2 separate regions of the Homo sapiens genome follow, and region 2 is linked to region 1. Evidence: promoter capture Hi-C in human tissues and cell types (Jung and others, 2019). All regions are on one chromosome and are shown on one strand. Each heading gives the region's core, a stretch centred on a gene start or on the middle of the fragment in contact. The rest is flanking DNA. Distances are from core to core; before and after follow the strand shown. Region 1 holds the start of OBP2B (odorant binding protein 2B). Region 2 has its middle 53 kb from the start of SURF6.

Evidence for each region. The method cuts DNA at HindIII sites, captures the fragments that hold promoters and counts their contacts. A contact is called where the count stands out against the background at its distance.
Region 2: a fragment that was not itself captured here is called in contact with the fragment with the promoter of OBP2B in region 1 in 3 of the 25 tissues and cell types used here (H1 embryonic stem cells, mesendoderm cells and stomach).

The regions. Positions count from the first base shown.
Region 1 is chr9:133,207,823-133,210,612 of GRCh38, forward strand. OBP2B (odorant binding protein 2B) reads right to left here and starts at 1,428. Exons shown (of 7, transcript NM_014581.4): 1 at 1,306-1,428; 2 at 647-780; 3 at 311-381. The coding sequence starts at 1,377. The HindIII fragment of the contact is 7,424 bases long and covers 1-2,790 here.
Region 2 is chr9:133,281,437-133,284,226 of GRCh38, forward strand. No RefSeq gene overlaps it. Among named protein-coding and RNA genes, the nearest start is that of SURF6, 53 kb to the right of the region's middle. The HindIII fragment of the contact is 8,824 bases long and covers 1-2,790 here.

The DNA of each region.
Region 1 (2,790 bases), core at 178-2,677:
CCTCAGCCTCCCCGTACCTAATCCTTGGCCTCCTTGTCCCAATCCTCAGCTTCCTCAATGTGTCAATGGCTAGGGCCTCCCAGAGGGCAGGCGTGATCTGGTCCATCTCGACTGCGGACAAGCCTGTCACACCCGGTGTCTGATGTCAGGGCCACCAGCCCCCCAGGAAGGAGAGGCCAGCCCCTCCTTGGAGGTGGGCAGAGCTGGGGCCCTGGCAAAAGGGCAGCCTGGGCACTCTCTACCTGTGGAGGCTGGTGCACTGGGGTTGGCGGTGGGGGAGGGTGGGGGTGGGAGTGGGGGAGGGGCTCACAGGCGCTGTATTTGCCAGGCTCCTCCGTCTTCCGCATCAGGATTTTCTTCTGGATGCACCTATCCTCCCTCCTGGAAAACAGGAGACACGCGGGCAGCGGCTCCCAGGACACCCATGGCCCATCCTCAGCTCACCTGGTGCATGGCCCTGACCCGGCAACCTGAAAATTCCACTGCCCCCCACCCCACCGAGCTTCAGGATGCCCAGGCTGTTTCCCTCCAAGGCAGGGGGTGACTCTTCCCAACACCCGAAACGTGGATGGGGCAATGGGCACCAGGTGGATCTGGGGAGGGGAGCGAAAGTGGCCTGAGGGGCCCTGCAGTGGGCAACACTCACATGAAGGTGAACGTGGCTTCCAACTTCCCACCGCCCAGGGCTGTCACCTTCACTGGGGACACCTTCCTGGGCCTCCTGTCCTCCGGAAAGTCCTTATCGACCACCATGGCCTTCACGTACCAGGTCCCTGTGATCTGGAGCAGGCCAAGGCCGTGAGCCCACCATGGGTGGCCCAGATTCTACTCTGACCCTGGCACTCAGGCCTGCAGCTATAACCAGACACCCATGGTGCCCGGCTGCTGCCCTTAAAGGCAGGCTGTGTTCCTGCACCTTAGTTAGAGCTCAGCTGGAGTGAGTTAGAGCCAGCCCCCTGCTCAGGGCTCCCAGCCCCCAGTGGAAGGAGGGCATGTCTGCACCCCATGGACCCCCGGGCCCCAGCACCAGGTGAGCCCTCCCTCCACAGGGCCCAACCCTGCGAGACCTTCGGGCTTCAGGCGTCAGTGCAGCAGGAACCCCTGAGACGAGCCTGCTCCGGCCCTGGGCCTCGGGGGGCCGTGTCTGCTGGAGGAACAATAGGACCCCTCCACCACCACCCCAGGCTGGGAGCACGGGGTCAGAAGCCAGCCTTCAGTGACACCTCCTAAAGCAGGGCCCCTGGCACTGCCCCCTGCCCAGGAGTCCGCCTGGCTCCTCCATCCGCCCACGCCAACCCAGCTCACATCCTCCTCCTCCAGGGTGAAGGACAGGGCAGCGGCCAGGCCGAGCGTGACACCCAGGAACAGGGTCTTCATCTCCAGAGCTCTGTGCTGCCGACCTCGGCAGGTCACTGGGCGTCTGAACAAGGCTGTGCTGGCTCCTCTCGAGATGTTCTTTATAGCCCCCTGGCCAGTGTCCTGGGAGCACGTGGCACGGTGCACCCCTCCCCATGGTGGCAACCAGTCCTGCATCCGGGAGGGGGAGTGTCCTCATTGCTGGCATCTGGTGAACAGCAAGTCAGTGCCAGCCAGAGAAGAAAAGACACACGATGCCATCCAGAGTTTGCACCACCCGAACGCGCCCACTCAGATGAGCCCAGAGGACTCGAGAGGACAGGGCAGGGTGGTGTCCATCTGCACCCCAAGCCACAGAGGCAGGGCCCACAGCCTCGGGATACTCCCTCACCAACCCCTGCACCCTCCCAGGGCCACGGCTGGGACCCTGGGCAAGTCCTCTGGGGAACTGGCCATCTCCCTGCTGAGCAGAAATGGACTGGGCTTTAGAACCAGAGAGACGTGGGGCTGCTGCCAGCTGAGTCCCGCACGCCCTAGAGCCCAAGCTTCCGCCCACTCTGGGACCCACTCTGCATTGATTTTCCCCACCTGGACCCTGCACTCGAGCTTCCTAGGGGCAGAGGAGGGCACTATTGTGTGGCTCAGGGTCAGTTTATATACGGCCTCCTCGGGCCATATGAGGGACCCCGCCGCCTCCCCGACCCCGCTTCACTCCGTACCGGAGCCTGGCTGTGCTGTCCTCAGAACACGCGATCTCTCTGGATTGTCCTGTCCATTTCTTCCTGCACGTATTCATCGACCATCTCCCTGTTAGAATATACATTCCCCTCTCTCGTCAGCTTTGACGGCCCCCAGCCCCCAGGACAGGCCTTGAATCTCATCCCTTTAGATAAACAAGTCGCATGAGGCACCAAGAGTCACCTGCCAGCCTGTGCTCAGAGTTCGTGGCTGAGGTCCCTTGGGCACCTGGCTCTGCTGGCCTCATCCCCAGCCAACCTGAGCCAGAACTTTGCCTTCTCCCTCCCGGACCCTGCATTTCCCAGGTGTGTGTCATCTTCCCTGGGACCCAAGGCTGACCCACGCTCTGCAGGCAGGTGCTGGACCCACACAATGGCATCTTTGTGCCTCTCTGGCCCAAGATCAGACACTCTCAAGTACTTACTCAATAATACTAATGCACACTCTAATAAACCCTGGGGCTGTAACGAACGGGCTGGTGTGACCCAGTCCCTCACCCCTCCCACGGCAAGTGCTGCCGAGCAGAAACCCCCCACCCTCATCCCCCCGGGCAGGAAAGAATGGGGCCTGGGCTCTTCAGGACCAGAGATGAGCAAACAGGCTGGAGTCTCTACATCAACGGGAAGGTTTCTCTGTTCTCTGTGTTTGTTGACTGTACCCCAGGCACCTCGTATTTCATTGGTTGTTTGTGAATCA
Region 2 (2,790 bases), core at 139-2,638, 74 kb after region 1:
AGGGCTGCATCACACATAGCTTGAGGAACCCAGTGAGTTCCCTGATGAAGCTGTGACAATATTTCTCTCATGAGGGGTTTAGACAGCATTTCCCTTCCATCTGGTATTACCCACTTTCCCTCTGGGCTCTCGTTAGCTCCTATGTTCTTTAGTTTCTCTTGGTCTGCACGGGAGAAGGTGGGGATCACAGCTGGAGGGGGAAGACAAGGGGTGAGATGGAAAATGGGTGCCTCTTGGGAAGAGACAGCTTGTTTAGCTATCTGATCTGCGAAGTTGTTTCCCCAGCTTTCAAAAGATGGGTGTTTGGGGGCCTAGGACATGGACAATTGCAATTTCTTCTGGCAGCTGAAGATTTTCATTCATTCATTTATTGAGACGAAGTCTCACTCTGTTGCCCAGGCTGGAGTGCAGTGGCACGATCTCGGCTCACTGCAACCTCCGCCTCCCAGGTTCAAGCAATTCTCCAGCCTCAGCCTCCCAAGTAGATGGGATTACAGGCGCCCAACACAACACCCGGCTAATTTTTGTATTTTTGTAGAGATGGGGTTTCACCATGTTGGCCAGGCTGGTCTTGAACTCCGGACCTCAGGTGATCTGCCCGCCTCGGCCTCCCAAAGTGCTGGGATTACAGGTGCAAGCCACCATGCCCGGCTCAGCAGCTGAAGATTTTCTAGTGCTTGCATAATTAATTCCTTGTGGACCAGATCTTGGCCCTTACTATTTACGAGGTCTTGTTGAGTCCAGATTTTTCAAAGGTAAGGACTACTCCAAAGGCATACTTGGAGTCGGTGTAAATAGTTCCTTCCTGATTCTGCAGGGATTTTAAGGCTTGGTTTAATGCAAAGAGTTCGCATGTTTGGGCAGACCAGGCATTTGGCAGTCTTCCTGACTCTACCTCTGTGAGGTCTCCCCAACAACTAAGGAGTACCCGTTGTGCCTTTTTCCTTCAATGACCCGGGAGGAGCTGTCTATAAATTGGTGACCCCCTGTTTGGAAGGCGGTTTCGTTTAGATCCAGTCTGACTCTAGTTTGATAACTGATTAGACCCAAGCAGAGATAGAGTCATCAAGGTTCTTGGTGTGTTGAACAAAGAACTGAACAAAATGCACAAAGTAAGAAAGAACAAAGAAAGAACAAACGAAAGACAAAGCAACAAAAGACCCGGAAAGCACAGCTTTATTGAAAACAATTCACAGGGTGGGAGTGGCTGGAGCAAACGGCTCAAGAGCTTCCTCAATTAGGGTTTTTATTAAGCTAAAGGAACCTGGCAACACCCCTTGCTGCCCTTTAGAGGCCTCCGATTGGCTGCCATCTGTCAGCTGCTATCTGTCACCAAAATGTGTCTTATTTTAGCAAGAAGTGGAGCATAATCTATTTAACCAATTGCCTCCTGCTGGACTTTGAGAATATTTTTCTATTTTTTAAAAAAATTGTTTTTGTTTTGTTTTGCTTTTTTTGAGACAGGGTCTGGTCTATTGCCCAGTCTGCACTGCAGTGGTGCAATCATAGCTCGCTGCAGCCTCCAACTCCTGGGCTCAAGCAATTCTCCTACCTCAGCCTTCCAAGTTGCTGGGATTACAAGGCACATGCCACCATGCCTGACTAATTTTTCTGATTTTTAGTAGAGACAGGGGGGTCTCACTATGTTGTCCAGGCTGGTCTTGAACTCCTGGCCTTAAGTGATCTTCCCACCTCACGCCTGTCAGCCATCGTGCTCAGTTGTTAGAGGTTTTATAAAAATGAAAAATGTCACATACTGTTTTTCCAGAAACTTCATTGGCACTAGTAAGGTTCTAGGGAGTTGGCAAACACTGATTGGTGAATGACTGCAGTGGGTAAAGCTTAGATGAGTGATGGTGGCAGATGAAGCTGTGACTAGTGAGTGATGGTGGCGGGTGAAGCTCTGATTGGTGAGTGATGGTGGTGAGCAAAGCTCTACCAGATGAGTGATGGCGGCGGGTTGTGGGGGAAAGAAAGAGCGATCAGACGGTTACTGTGTCTATGTAGAAAGAAGTAGACATAAGAGACTCCATTTTGTTCTGTACTAAGAGATATTCTTCTGCCTTGAGATGCTGTTAATCTGTAACCCTAGCCCCAACCCTGTGCTCACAGAGACATGTGCTGTGTTGACTCAAGGTTTAATGGATTTAGGGCTGTGCAGGATGTGCTTTGTTAAAAAAGTGCTTGAAGGCAGCGTGCTTGGTAAAAGTCATCACCATTCTCTAATCTCGAGTACCCAGAGACACAATACATTGCAGAAGGCCAGGCCGCAGGGACCTCTGCCTAGGAAAGCCAGGTATTGTCCAAGGTTTCTCCCCATGTGACAGCCTGAGATACGGCCTCGAGGGAAGGGAAAGACCTGATCGTCCCCCAGCCCGACACCCATAAAGGGTCTGTGCTGAGGAGGATTAGTAAAAGAGGAAGGCCTCTTTGCAGTTGAGATAAGAGGAAGGCATCTGTCTCCTGCTCGTCCCTGGGAATGGAATGTCTTGGTGTAAAACCCGATCATACGCTCTAAATACTGAGATAGCAGAAAACCTCCCTATGGCTGGAGGTGAGACATGCTGGCGGCAATACTGCTCCTTAATGCACTCAGATGTTTGTGTAAAGTCAAGCATAAATCTGGCCTACGTGCACATCCAGGCACAGCACCTTTCCTTAAACCTATTTACGACACAGAGATCTTTGCTCATATGTTTTCCTGCTGACCCTCTCCCCACCATTACTCTATAGTCCTGCCACATCACCCTGTCCGAGATGGTAGAGATAGTGACCAATAAATACTGAGGA